Regions from separate parts of the Homo sapiens genome. Here regions 1, 2, 3 and 5 are each linked to region 4. The links are contacts of gene promoters, found by promoter capture Hi-C in blood cells and fetal thymus (Javierre and others, 2016). All regions are on one chromosome and are shown on one strand. The core of a region is centred on a gene start or on the middle of the fragment in contact, and the rest is flanking DNA. Distances in the headings are between cores, read along the strand shown. Region 1 overlaps NEK11 (NIMA related kinase 11). Region 2 overlaps ATP2C1 (ATPase secretory pathway Ca2+ transporting 1). Region 3 overlaps NEK11 (NIMA related kinase 11). Region 4 holds the start of MRPL3 (mitochondrial ribosomal protein L3). Region 5 overlaps NEK11 (NIMA related kinase 11).

Region 1 (2,700 bases), core at 16-2,515, 440 kb before region 4:
AACAGAACCATGTGGTATGGACTGTTTTCGTCTGGCTTCCTTCACTCAGCATTGTGTTTTAGAGATTTAGCACCACAGCCTGATTAAACAAGTCGTGGTGCTAGTAGAGATGTGACTCCACAGCTCTGACTGTCAAGGAGGAAAGGAACCACCACATCATCTCCTCTATTCTGGCCAGTTCCAGGCTCCAACCGATCCCCACTAATGCTGTAGTAGGAGACTCAGGCATTCACTGTAATCAACTACATAAAGCTAGGCAAGAGAAATGGAAGTAAAGGGATCTCAGGGCAGTGTTGGCCCAGCTGATGAAGATAATCTCTCAACAGAATCAGAGAATCTTAGGTATGAATGAAGTTTTAAAAAATTATTATTTTTGTTATTTTAAGAGACAGACTTTTGCGCTGATGCCCAGGCTAGAGTGCAGTGGCACAATCACTGCTCACTGCAGCCTCAAACTCCTAGGGTTAGGCAGTCCTCCTGCCTCAGCCTCCCAAGTAGCTGGGACTACAGCCACATGCCACCACGCCCAGCTAATTTTTTTACTTTTTATAGAGAGGGGGTCTCACTATGTTGCCCAGGCTGGTCTGAAGCTCCTGGACTTAAGCAATTCTTCTGCCTTGGCCTCACAAAGTGCTAGGATTACAGTTGTGAGCCACTGCATCTAGCCTGAATGGAGCTTTTACGTCATCTAACCCAAGCCCCTTACTCTGTGGTTAATTAAGATAATTCAGCAGAGTATTTTTCATTCCAGGACCATCTTCTCTATGCCCTGAATTCTGAGTCTTGAATACAAGACAACTCTTGGAGGGCAACTGTCCTTTTTCTCAGATGTAGTAGAAAGGAAGGGGACAGAGTGGGAAACAGAAGCAAGAAAAAGGATACAGAGATAGGATCATGAATAGAGGAGGTGGATGGGTCAGGTTTGGGAATAATGATTAATACAGTCCCGATAGATAGGGTCCAGTTGATAGAATACCTTGAACTGGAGGCTTAATAAGTTTTGTCTGATGGGGAATACAAGAGAAGATCTTTAGCAAGAGAGTGACATAAAAGTAGTATTTGAAAAATGATTATCCTTGAGCTTGAGGAAATCATAGAGTAACTCACCAGCCAGGAAATTTACTACAAGTGTAAAATTACCCGTATGACCTAGCAATTCCATTCCTAGGTACATACCCAAAAGACATAAAAACATATATCCACTCAAAACCTTGTACACAAATGTTTACAGCAGCATTATTCATAATAACCAAAAGGTAGAAACAACCCAAGTGTCCATCAACTGATAAATGGATAAACAAAATATGGTATATCCATACAATAGAATATTATTTAGCCATGAGAAGCCATGAAATACTGATACATGCTACAGTCTGGATAAACCTTGAAAACAATATGCTAAGTGGAAGAAGACAGTCACAAAAGACTACATATTCTATGATTCAACTTATATGAAATATCAAGCAGGCAAACCCACAGAAAGAAAAGTGGTTGCCAGGGGCTATGGAGAGTGGGAATGGGTAGTGATTGCTGATGGATAAGGGATTTCTTTGGGGACTGTGTTAGTTTTCCAGGGCTGCCATAATGAAATGCCACAGACTAGGTGGTTTGAATAACAGAAATTTATTTTCTCATGTTCTGGAGGCCGAAAGTCCAAGAATAAGGTGCCAGCAGGGTGATTTTTTTCTGAGGCTGCTCTCCTTGGCTTGTAGATGGCCACCTCCTTGCTCTGTTTTCACATGGCCTTTCTGTGTTTGTGCAAGCGTGTCCCTGGTCTCTCCCTCTCCTTATAAGAACAACACTTATATAGGATTAGGGCCCACTCTGCTGGCCTCATTTTAACTTAATCGACTCTTTCAAGACCTTATCTCCAAATACAGTTACATTCTGAGGCACTGGGGGTTGAGACCAACATATGAATTTTAGGGGGACACAATTCAATCCATAATAAGGATAATAAAGGGTTCTAAAATTAGACAGTGTTGATGGTTGCAGACCTCTGGGGATATACTAAAAGCTACTGAATTGTACACTTGAAAAGAGTGAATTTAATGGTACATGAATTATGTCTCAATAAAACTGTTAGTAACAAAAAATAAAAACTAAACTGGACATAGCTCTTGCCTTCAAAGAGCTTATGGACCAGTCAGGCAAACAAGAATGTAAATAGGCATTTTCAACCCCTTGCAGGGCATGCTAGATGGAGATGTGCTTATTCTATTTTTATAGAGTAGAGAAGACATTCTGGAAGAGTGAACGTTGGAGCCAAACTTACAGAATGAATATAAATCTGGCAGAGAAAGGGTAGAGACAGTGTGTCCCAGACAGCGGAATAGCATAAGTGAAGGCACAAAGGCATGAAAACCCTGGCATGTACAAGGAAGGAACTTTACAACACAGTTATCATGCCCTTGCTAGTCTGCTTTCTCTTGTTATTATTAAAATTTAAATGCTGGATAAAGATTACATTAACAATGAGTAGAAAGAGCTTTGGTCTTAAAGTCAGACCTCCTGCATTTATATCTCAGTCTTTCCACTTACTTTGGACAATTACCTAAACTACCAGTCTCAGTTTTCTTATCTGTAAAATGGGGAAAATAAGGATGATTCTATATGGTTGTAAGTCTTAAATGAATGACAAGGAAAACATTCCTAGCACATTTTCACAAGTTATTCCTTGAAATACATTAGCTCTGTCCA
Region 2 (2,700 bases), core at 78-2,577, 510 kb before region 4:
AGTTGTATGCGAGTGTCATAGGAAACAGACGCAAGAGAATTTTTCCTTTTTTTGTCTCTGGAACATTTCAAGAATAAGGCTGTTTTCTTTCCAGAGTTTACACATAATGATATAAATTGGATGACTTGTTTAGATTGTGTATTTCCTGTGGTACCTTTGGTAAAGATTGAAATGACCATGTCAGATTAATGTCTTAACAAACATATGTCATATTGCTTAAGCTTGATCTCAGTGGCAAATTAAATACAGCTTAAATTGATGAGTTTTTCATCATTAGTTATGAATGCATGGGTTATTCTGTAGAAATCTTAATATTGAAGATTTTTAGTGTATCTTGTATTTTAACAGGTTGCAGTATTTTACAGAGCTAGCCCAAGGCACAAGATGAAAATTATTAAGGTGAGTGTGTAAGAATCAGATTGTTTTATTTCTGTATACAAAATGCTGCTACTTTACTTTTGTTATGTTTGCATTACAGGGAGTAGAGCATCAAGGTCAGAAATACTGTGAAGCAAAACAGTTTTTTTTTTTTGTAAGAGCTTGACATAGAAACACTAATAGAGAATTTAGTTGGCATAAGATGTAGAAGAAAACTTGAATGAAGTATCTGCAAATACAGCCTTCTTTAAACAGTTAGACAGTATAAAACAATGTTCTAACTGGGGTCCATAGCCGAGTCATCCCAGCGTAAATAGCAGTAATTAGTTAGAAACTAAATAAATACAGCAAGGAAATAGTGTTGTGACAGTGTGAACAGTGCTTAAAAGGCTATGATTATTTATATTAATTAGTCAAATGTATTTAAACCAACTGATAGAGTATCCAGTAGTTAATGGTCTTAAGTTATGATAGCCAGCCATTGTGTAGTTCAGAGTTTCTCAACCTTGGCACCATTGACATTTTGGACTGGATAATTCCTTGTTGTGAAGGGCTGCCCCATATGTTATTGAATGTTTAGCAGCATTCTTGGCCCCTTCCCACTAGGTGCCAGTAACATCCCCCAAATCCTGATAGTCCAAAACATCTCCACACATTGTCAGATGTCCCTTGGGAGACACAATTGCCCCTGGTTGAGAATCATTGTATAGTTGTTTGAAGAACAGAATTTAGAGATACAGTTCTCACAGATGGGAATATTAGTAGCAACTTTTTCTAAGCTTTATCTTACTGAGATCTCCATTTGTTGAAGTTCATTGAACAATGGGTGGTCTATATTATTTCTAATCTTAATTATGTGAAAAAAATAGGGAGGATTTGTTTATCGCTTTGTATGGAAGCAACATTTTTATCAAAATTCCTTCCTCTCCCCTGTCCTCTGCTCCACTCTAGTCGCTACAGAAGAACGGTTCAGTTGTAGCCATGACAGGAGATGGAGTAAATGATGCAGTTGCTCTGAAGGCTGCAGACATTGGAGTTGCGATGGGCCAGACTGGTACAGATGTTTGCAAAGAGGCAGCAGACATGATCCTAGTGGATGATGATTTTCAAACCATAATGTAAGCTTTGTTTCAGTGAATGCCTATCAGAGAATCTTCCCCTATCCTTTCCTGTCCCCCACCCCTAGAGAATTCAACTGGAAAAGAATTAGTATTTAAACATTAGGTAAACTAAACCACTTTTCTAGGGTAATTATCCTATTTTATGGTATGAAGAAGATGATTTGTGTGGCTGGAACAGGCATAGTAAATGGCAGGACCCTCATTTAAGAAGTATTTGCCAAGTGCCAGCCACATTTCACCTTTTTCTGGGCACTAATATGATGGTATAGTAATGGCCTTTATTTTAGTTAAATTCAGGTAGTTAGAAATATGCATATGTATGGCTCTTTTTTTGGCTTTATAATAAATATTGAAAATTATGAAGTTTACATCCATACCTGTTTTTTATATCAGTAATTTATTCATCTTGCCCTCATTTAATGTTATAATTTATTAAATTTAAATAGCTCTATTTGTGTCAGCCACAGTTTCCAGTTGATTTAAGACTCCAGTGTAATACATGGTGGTGTCAGTTTCACAGTGTTCAGGTGGGGATCATGTGAATCCCATTTATTTATTTATTTATTTTTTTGGTAGCTACCTGTTGGATGACCTGAGTTTAGTGATAAATTCCAATTATATGTTCCAGGCTGCTTTATTACTCTGTTTTGGCCTACAGGGAAACATTTGGGAGCTTAGGACTCACAGTATTTGCCAAGCTTTTGCAAGGATATGAGTTTTTTCTTTCCATTATTATAATTATATAGAAATCTTAGAAGAAATGGGGAGTTGATTAAAAAGCATAGATTTTCCTGGATTCAGCTAAATGAATGAGATAATTTATATGAATCCTTGTAAACCATGTTCTTCATTTAATTCCTCTGCAACATGTGATCTACTTGATGTGCAGGAGCAACACGTAGCTTAAATTCTATAATTCCTATATATCTCATTGCCATTTGATTCCTGACATGCATTAGTTTAAACCTTTACTCTGCATTTTGTACCACTAAGAAAAATGAGCTTAGAGGAAGGTGAAGAAGATAATCATGGCTGGGCAGGGTACCTCATGCCTGTAATGCCAGCACTTTGGGAGGCTGAGGTGGATGGATCACTTGAGCCCAGGAGTTCGAAACCAGCCTAGGCAACATGTCAAAACCCATCTCTCCAAACAATACAAAAAAAATAGCTGGGAGTGGTGATGTGAGCCTGTGGTCTCAGC
Region 3 (2,700 bases), core at 30-2,529, 460 kb before region 4:
AAAGCTTATTTTGGCATTATTTTGCTAGCTCACATAACCATAAAAACTCTGTGTGTGTGTGTGTATGTGTATACATACGTAAATATATACTCACGTATATATATGTGTGTGTGTATGTGTGTGTTTAAGGTGTGTATATGTGTATGCATTTTTTAATTGGACAGTTTTTTAGTTCAACACTAGTTTCAGCAGCAAAAGTTGTGTTCAGCTGGTAATAATATCCCGTTCTGATGGATGAAGAGGCAAGGGCTCAATATTTCATAACTATACTTGGACATGAACTCAGTATTGAGTACTTGGAAGTACTCAGTGGAGACTTCTACTTTATAAAAATTCAAAAGGCGATTCCAGGGCAAGATGGCCGAATAAGAACAGCTCTGGTCTGCAGCTCCCAGCGAGATCAATGCAGAAGGTGGGTGATTTCTGCATTTCCAACTGAGGTACCTGGTTCATCTCATTGGGACTGGTTAGATGTGGGTACAGCCCACGGAGGGCGAGCAGAAGGAGGGTGGGGCGTCACCTCACCCCGGAAGTGCAAGGGGTTGGGGAGCTCCCTCCCCTAGCGAAGGGAAGCTGTGAGGGACTGTGCCATGAGGAACAGTGCATTCCAGCTCAGCCACTATACCTTTCCCACAGTCTTCACAGACCAGGAGATTCCATCAGGGGCCTACACCACAAGCGCCCTGGGTTTCAAGCACAAAACTGGGCAACCGTTTGGGCAGACACCCAGCTAGCTGCAGGTTTTTGTTTTTTGTTTTTTTTTTCCCTGTATCCCAGTGGTGCCTGGAATGCCAGCGAGACAGAACTGTTCACTCCCCTGGAAAGGGGGCTGAAGCCAGGGAGCCAAGAGGTCTTGCTCAGCGGATCCCATTCCCATGGAACCCAGCAAGCTAAGATCCACTGGCTTGAAATTCTCACAGCCAGCATGGCAGTCTGAGGTCGACCTGGGATGCTGTTGCTTGGTGGGGGGAGGGGTGTTCACCATTACTGAGGCTTGAGTAGGTGGTTTTCCCTTCACAGTATAAACAAAGCTGCCAGGAAGTTCAAACTGGGTGGAGCCTACTGCAGTGCCACAAAGCCGCTGTAGCCAGACTGTCTCTCTAGATTCCTCCTCTCTGGCAGGGCATCTCTGAAAGAAAGGCAGCAGCCTCAGTTAGGGGCTTATAGATAAAACTCCCATCTCCCTGGGACAGAGCACCTGGGGGAAGGGGCGGCTGTGGGTACAGCTTCAGCAGACTTAAACGTTCCTGCCTGCTGACTCTGAAGAGAGCAGCAGATTTCCCAGCACAGCACTCGAGCTCTGCTAAGGGACAGACTGCCTCCACAAGTGGGTCCCTGACCCCCGTGCCTCCTGATGGGGAGACACCTTCCAGCAGGGGTCGACAGGTACCTCACACGGGAGAGCTCTGGCTGGCATCTGGCAGGTGCCACTCTGGGATGAGGCTTCCAGAGGAAGGAACAGGCAGCAATCTTTGCTGTTCTGCAGCCTCTGCTGGTGATACCCAGGCAAACGGGGTTTGGAGTGGACCCCCAGAAAATACCAGCAGACCTGCAGAAGAGGGGCCTGACTGTTAGAAGGAAAACTAACAAACAGAAAGCAATAGCATCAACATCAACAAAAAGGATGACCACGCAAAAACTTCATCCAAAGGTCACCAACAGCAAAGAACAAAGGTAGGTAAATCCACGAAGATGAGGAAAAACCAGCGCAAAAAGGCTGAAAATTCCAAAAACCAGAATGCCACTTCTCCAAAGGATCACAACTCCTCGCCAGCAAGAGAACAAAACTGGATGGAGAATGAGTTTGACAAATTGACAGAAGTATGCTTCAGAAGGTGGATAATAATGAACTCCTCCGAGCTAAAGGAGCGTGTTCTAACCCAATGCAAAGAAGTTAGGAACCTTGATAAAAATTAGAGGAGTTGCTAACTAGAATAACCGGTTTAGATAAGAACACAAATGATGTGATGGAGCTGAAAAACAGCACAAGAACTTCATGAAGGAAGCATACACAAGTATCAATAGTCAAATCAATCAAGTGGAAGAAAGTATATCAGTGATTGAAGATCAACTTAATGAAATCAAGTGTGAAGACAAGATTAGAGAAAAAAGAATGAAAAGTAATGAACAAAGACTTCAAGAAATATGGGACTATGTGAACAGACCAAATCTACATTTGATTGGTGTACCTGTAAGGGACGGGGAGAATGGAACCAAGTTGGAAAACACTCATCAGGATATTATCCGGGAGAACTTCCCCAACCTAGCAAGACAGGCCAACATTCAAATTCAGGAAATACAGAGAACACTGCAAAGATACTCCTCAAGAAGACCAACCCCAAGACACATAATCGTCAGATTCACCAAGGTTGAAATGAAGGAAAAAATGTGAAGGGCAGCCAGAGAGAAAGGTTGGTTTACCCACAAAGGGAAGCCTATCAGACTAACAACAGACCTCTCTGCAGAAACCCTACATGCCAGAAGAGAGTGGGGGCCAATATTCAACATTCTTAAAGGAAAGAATTTTCAACCCAGAATTCCATATCCAGCCAAACTAAGCTTCAAAAATGAAGGAGAAATGAAACCCTTTACAGACAAGCAAATACTGAGGATTTTGCCTTACAAGAGGTCCTGAAGGAAGCACTAAATATGGAAAGGAGAAACCGGTACCAGCCACTGCAAAAACAAACCAAAATGTAA
Region 4 (2,700 bases), core at 1-2,500:
AAAAGAAAAAATAAATAAAACCAAACCACAATTTAAAAACTTCCTCCACTTAATATAGAAAAGGGAAGTCACAAATTGGAAAGTGTAGTCAGGGCCTTGGGAAAGGGCTTGGATTCTGTATACCTTTTTTTCAGGTCTCCAACCTTTTCCTCACTCCCCACATTCCTTCGGATAAGGCTCACATTTAAACTGTTAGTCGTTACCCTGGAGAAAAAAATTCATCTTCTCCTCGCAGATAAACATATTCCCCAAAAAACAGTCCTACCTATAGACATGAAAAGCCACTAACCCATTTGGAAGTGTACCTTAATAGTTTTACATTCAGTGGAGGTGGCAGAAGGTGGCATGTTGATCTTTGTCTAACAAGCTCACCTCCTCCCTGCAATGACATGGCCTAGGTTCAGAGAAGTGAAGAAACTGGGTGTGCAAAGTTAAAAGATCCACAAAAGGCATGACCTCTGAACAGGTGAACATACCAAGAAAGACCTTAGTGGGCGGAGGTCAGGAAGAAGGGGTGTAATTCTTGCATGGAGGGTCAGAACAGAAGTAAAGCTTTCTGCAGTCTACTCTCCTTTTGTAGTCAGATAAATTCAGGCTAGATTCCTAATTTTCCACTTATTAGTTGAGTGACTTTGGGCAAATTAACTCACCTCCCTAACCTTCAGTTTTATCTGTAAACCTTATGATAGCAGTTTGCTCCCGTGAGGCTACATAAGGCACCTAATACACTTAGCAGAGCGCTTAGTACCTGGCAAACGCTCACTAATTGTAAGATATGATTGCTGTTAATAGCGTTCGCTGCTAGTGGCTGGCTCATAAGCGTTTTTTAAAAATCACCACTTCAATCCCCTTAGAACGTGCTTCCTTAGGTTAACGGCCCTTATTCTTCTGTGTCCCACGTCTCAACAGAGCCCCTTCCTCCTCCACCCAGGGGAGGCCCAACTGCACCAGGCCATTCCACTGCTTCAGGACGCAACTGTGCAGGTAGGACACCCTCACACCTTCCTACCTGTTCCCCGGGCCCAGGGCAGCACCCAGGCCGTCCCCGAGTCGACCCAGCACCTGGGCGCCGACCTGCGTCAGCAGCCTCCAACCCGGCATGGATTAGCCCGGGAAGACTCGACTCACGACTTCCGGGCGCCCTGCCGCTCTGCTTTCAGGGAGTCCCCACGCCACCGCCACGTGGACGCAGTAGCCGTGGGGAAGTTTTCGCAATGGCCGCCGGAACGGTCGCCGGCCGATGCTCTCTGCGACGGAAAGAAAGCCGCCGGACCCACTTCCGGTGCGTTTTACAATGAACTCCGGGCACTCGAGTCGCTCCCCGGAAACTATAGTTCTGCTTCCACCGTTGTCCTACTTTGGATGTGAGTTGGAGTAGGTAGGGGTGGGAAGGGACTGACTCGCCTCTCCAGGGGTAAAATAAAAGGGATGTTCAGAGTTTAAACTTTAGAAGAATAAGGACAGACTTCCTGAGGACGCTAAGGAAAATGAAGACACTTCTAAATAGTGCCCGTTGTGAGGCAATGCATTATGCTAAGCAGCGCTTCATAATCCTATATTTGTTAATCATAAAAAACGGTCCTGAAAGGAAGTATTTATTTTTCTATTATAAATGAGGAAACTGACTCAGAATTTAGGTGCTGGTCCAAAACAACACATCTGGCAGAGGAGCAGAGTTGGCACTGAAACAGGGTTGGCATGTGTTATCAATAGACTACACCCATAGAAATGATGTATGCCTTCTAGGGCTGGATCATAAAACATATTGTTACTTCAGTTTTTGTCTCTTGGATTGCTCCCTGTGGAGAAAGCTAGCCTTCATTTCCTGCAGACACTCAAACAGCTCTGCAGGGAGGAACATATAAAGAGGAATCAACTAGCCAGTCATGACTGAGCCACCTAGGAAGTGGATCCACCAGTCCTCGGCTGCAACTCATGGAGACGTTAAGCCTGAATCTCCCAGCCAGGCCGCTCATGAATTACTGACTAGGAGAAATTGCCAGAGAAAATAAATGATTACCGTTTTTTTGAGTCATTAAGCTTTAGGGTAATTTGTTATGCAATAATAGATAGCTAATACACCTGCACAAAAAATCCCCTGTCTTGGGTTCCAGATCTAGCCTAATAACCATGTATGTGACTAGGACATTTATTCTTCTACTAATTCCCTTATTTGTCAGATTACTGTTTGTAGAAATTTGGAAATAAGAACTTTAAAGTGTAGCTATTTCAACCTTCTCTTTTTACTAGAGATCTGGCTATCTTGGTTTAACAGGTCCAGACAATGGTCAATTCCTGGCCATTACTTGGACTTTAGTGGGCTAAAAAATCTTTGCTTTGCTTGTCCATTCATTCCACTCATTGCTGTTGCAGTTACCTTAGACACTTTTCAATAATACTTTGGACCTTGAAGGAAAAACTACATCTCTTCATTCTAGCCATGCTGCCTGGCTTCCCAGATACTTAAGGATGGCTCTTCATTGAACAAACATGTTTTGAGGTGTGCTACATGCAAGAAGTTGAGAATAAGAAGATTTCTGTACTACTGCCAATAACTAACATTTCTTATCCATATAGTGTGCTAGAGTATGTGCTCAGCATTGTGGAAGCCCATAAGCCAAGGCTACTAGAAGAAAACGTGAACTCATACAAAGTCAAGTTTAATTAGCTTGATGCAGCAAAAGACAGCATATGTCTGAG
Region 5 (2,700 bases), core at 21-2,520, 280 kb before region 4:
TGCAGGTTGAGAGGTCAGTTTAGTGAGTTGCAACCAGCATTAAAAAAATAATTGAACAGGATGAAAAACACCAGAGTGTGTCATATGTAGTTTGGGTAAATAGGTCTTGGTGTATGAAACTTTTGTTTCGACTATAAAGATATTTATAAACATACATATATAAGCACATTTCTGTGCACTGGGCAACAATGTAAATGATATTTCTTACCATGTCGTAGTTTGAAAGCCAAGGGAGTGGACAAGGAGGAATGAAGATAAAGAAAAAATGGGAGAGCAAGAGGGAAAAATATGAATGAGTGAGAGAATGAATAACTGTCAAAGGGACAAAGAGACTCGAGAGGGAGAGGAAGTAGAAAAGAGTGGGGAAAGAGGGAGAATGGACAACTCAGAGAAAGAGACACAGAGATTCAGGGAGAGTTGAGGGTGGGCAAGAGAAGGAAGACATCATATGGTTCTGTCTTTCATTCCACTCAGCAAGCACATGTCCCTACTTGATGGCAGAACTGGAGATCTCTCAGGAGATTTTAGTTTTCATACACTTCTCATGCTGTGATTCTCTTGTCGTTCTCAGTGTAAGTAAAATGAAGATCTTTATTAACATGGCTTCTAGTCATTACAGCAAAAAGACACCTGCACGTTTATGTTTATCACAACACAATTCACAATTGCAAGGATATGGAACCAACATAACTGCCCATCACTGATGAGTGGATAAAGAAAATGTGGCATATATACACCATGCAATACTACTCAGCCATTAAAAAAAGAATGAAATACTGTCTTTTGCAGCAACCTGGATGGAGCTGGAGGCCATTATTCTAAGTGAAGTAACTCAGGAATGGAAAACCAAATACCATATGTTCTCACTTATAAGTGGGAGCTAAGCTATGGGTACACAGAGGCATGCAGAGTGGGATAATGGACTTTGGAGACTCAGAAGGGAGGAGGGTGGGAGGGAGGTAAGGGATAAAAGACTACATATTGGGTACAGTGTATACTACTCGGTGAGGGTGCACTAAAATCTCAGACTTCACCACTACAAAAGTCACCCATGTAACCAAAAACCACTTGTATGCAAAAGGTATTGAAGTTCTATATGCATGTACATATGTGTATAGGTATGTTATATATATATGTGTACATACAGACACGTGCAGGTGTCTTCTTGATATAATGACTAGAAGCCACGTTTAATAAAAATAATATATATTATTTCAATATAAATAATAAAAATAATAAAAACTATGGCTTCTCCATAACAGTATTCTATCTCATCTGTTGCTCAGCTGAAAATCAGTGATCTGAACTGATGTGAAAAAAAAAAATACGCTGTGTTGAAATTGCTGAGAGAAGGTATGAGATCCCTAGTACACTGCTTTCTAAGGAACTGGCAAAGGCAATTTTGAATATATGTAATTTTTGTCTTTTGAGCTGACTAATTTTTATTCTACTGTACAGCAGCCTTTTATGTTTTAGTGGGAAACCATAGATAACAAACACATTTTAACATCTTCTATTTCCAGGGAATTCTACATCCATTAAGTATCTTACTTTCAAAGGATTCTGGACTCATTTAATGAAAAGCCCATTTGTACAGACTTGGAAATTGAGTGAACATTTGTATGAAACTTCCCTGCATACCGATGCTTTCATGAGAATTCTATTACTCAATCTCAGCAGCCACTCTACTAGATTACACTTATGTTAATTTTATCACAGAAATTGGAGCTCTGTGAGTTTAAGTCTCTTGCACAAATTTTCATCTAAAAAGTGGAAGAGCTAGATTCTAGCCTTGATTTTCTGACCCCAAATTTCATATTTTTCCCACTAGACCAGAAATAGCAACAATAGATTGAAAAATAATGTGTTACAATTTGGAAGAAAAATTTTAATTTTAAGTCTGAGTATGGTGCAAAGTCTAAAATGCCCATTGTTTTGCTGCAGCTGAGTATTCTAATTTTCTCCTCCCCCAGCCCAAGGGTAGTTGTTTGGGTAGTTCTTTATTTCTAGCCCCCCATTAGTAAATTATATTGTTATGCTTTCTTGTGATCCATTCATGGCCTTTCTTCACTGAAGATTGTTATAAACACCAACTTTATTCTAGTTACTAACAATGTTGCATCAAGTAACTTGGGTAGATGCTTATTGTCATCAGCTTAGGTGGGTATTCTTTTTTAAAATAAGTGCTGAATGTAAGGTTGAGTAAGTAGGACCCACCAGAGTGAACTCCATCTCAAAAGCCATCATTACCTGTTAGAAAAGAATTGTGTTTTTCCCAGCTTGCCAAAATGATGCTGCTATATATCCTATTCATCTTGTTTGGTCCTACCAGTAACATTTAAAAAAAAAGAAATATCTAGGAAAAATGCTGTGGTAGTTTTGCTCCAACTTCCTATGCTAAAAACTTTATGTGTGTTGTGTAATAGGACCCTTCAGCCAGGACATCTTGTCCTACCTTTGCCCCTAAATTTCCTCATTTTTAATAAGGATTCATGCCTCCAAATGTCAAAATGTTAAAGCATATTATTTATTCTTATTTAATGATTTTTTTCTTACCTTCAAACGGTAGTTGCTAATGGAAATGTTCCTCCTTTCCTCTACTGGTTTTATTTTGCTGAGTGTTTATTACATTCAACCAAATACTTCCAGGAAGCTGAGATTCAGCTCTACACTCCATGGAAGCTTTGTCAACGCAAGCAA

What was found. The method cuts DNA at HindIII sites, captures the fragments that hold promoters and counts their contacts. A CHiCAGO score of 5 or more calls a contact.
Region 1: a contact is called between a fragment that was not itself captured here and the fragment with the promoter of MRPL3 in region 4, in 7 of 17 cell types (total CD8 T cells, naive CD8 T cells, M0 macrophages and 4 more). The highest score is 7.1, in total CD8 T cells.
Region 2: a contact is called between a fragment that was not itself captured here and the fragment with the promoter of MRPL3 in region 4, in 4 of 17 cell types (non-activated CD4 T cells, total CD8 T cells, total CD4 T cells and 1 more). The highest score is 6.5, in non-activated CD4 T cells.
Region 3: a contact is called between a fragment that was not itself captured here and the fragment with the promoter of MRPL3 in region 4, in 11 of 17 cell types (total CD8 T cells, naive CD4 T cells, total CD4 T cells and 8 more). The highest score is 16.8, in total CD8 T cells.
Region 5: a fragment that was not itself captured here is called in contact with the fragment with the promoter of MRPL3 in region 4 in 1 of 17 cell types (neutrophils); the score reaches 5.1 in neutrophils.

Annotation. Positions count from the first base shown.
Region 1 is chr3:131,062,658-131,065,357 of GRCh38, forward strand. All of the region lies in intron 3 of NEK11 (NIMA related kinase 11), which reads left to right. Among named protein-coding and RNA genes, the nearest start is that of NEK11, 37 kb to the left of the region's middle. The HindIII fragment of the contact is 6,804 bases long and covers 1-2,700 here.
Region 2 is chr3:130,992,603-130,995,302 of GRCh38, forward strand. It overlaps ATP2C1 (ATPase secretory pathway Ca2+ transporting 1), which reads left to right. Exons shown (of 28, transcript NM_001378687.1): 21 at 349-399; 22 at 1,330-1,496. Among named protein-coding and RNA genes, the nearest start is that of ASTE1, 33 kb to the right of the region's middle. The HindIII fragment of the contact is 344 bases long and covers 1,156-1,499 here.
Region 3 is chr3:131,041,458-131,044,157 of GRCh38, forward strand. All of the region lies in intron 3 of NEK11 (NIMA related kinase 11), which reads left to right. Among named protein-coding and RNA genes, the nearest start is that of NEK11, 16 kb to the left of the region's middle. RefSeq lists an enhancer at 1,018-1,828. The HindIII fragment of the contact is 2,555 bases long and covers 3-2,557 here.
Region 4 is chr3:131,501,721-131,504,420 of GRCh38, forward strand. It overlaps MRPL3 (mitochondrial ribosomal protein L3), which reads right to left and starts at 1,251. Exons shown (of 10, transcript NM_007208.4): 1 at 1,010-1,251. The coding sequence starts at 1,101. It overlaps LOC105374114 (a long non-coding RNA gene), which reads left to right and starts at 879. Exons shown (of 3, transcript NR_189111.1): 1 at 879-984. RefSeq lists enhancers at 887-1,573, 1,080-1,149. The HindIII fragment of the contact is 1,488 bases long and covers 551-2,038 here.
Region 5 is chr3:131,225,739-131,228,438 of GRCh38, forward strand. All of the region lies in intron 14 of NEK11 (NIMA related kinase 11), which reads left to right. Among named protein-coding and RNA genes, the nearest start is that of NUDT16-DT, 150 kb to the right of the region's middle. The HindIII fragment of the contact is 2,820 bases long and covers 1-2,680 here.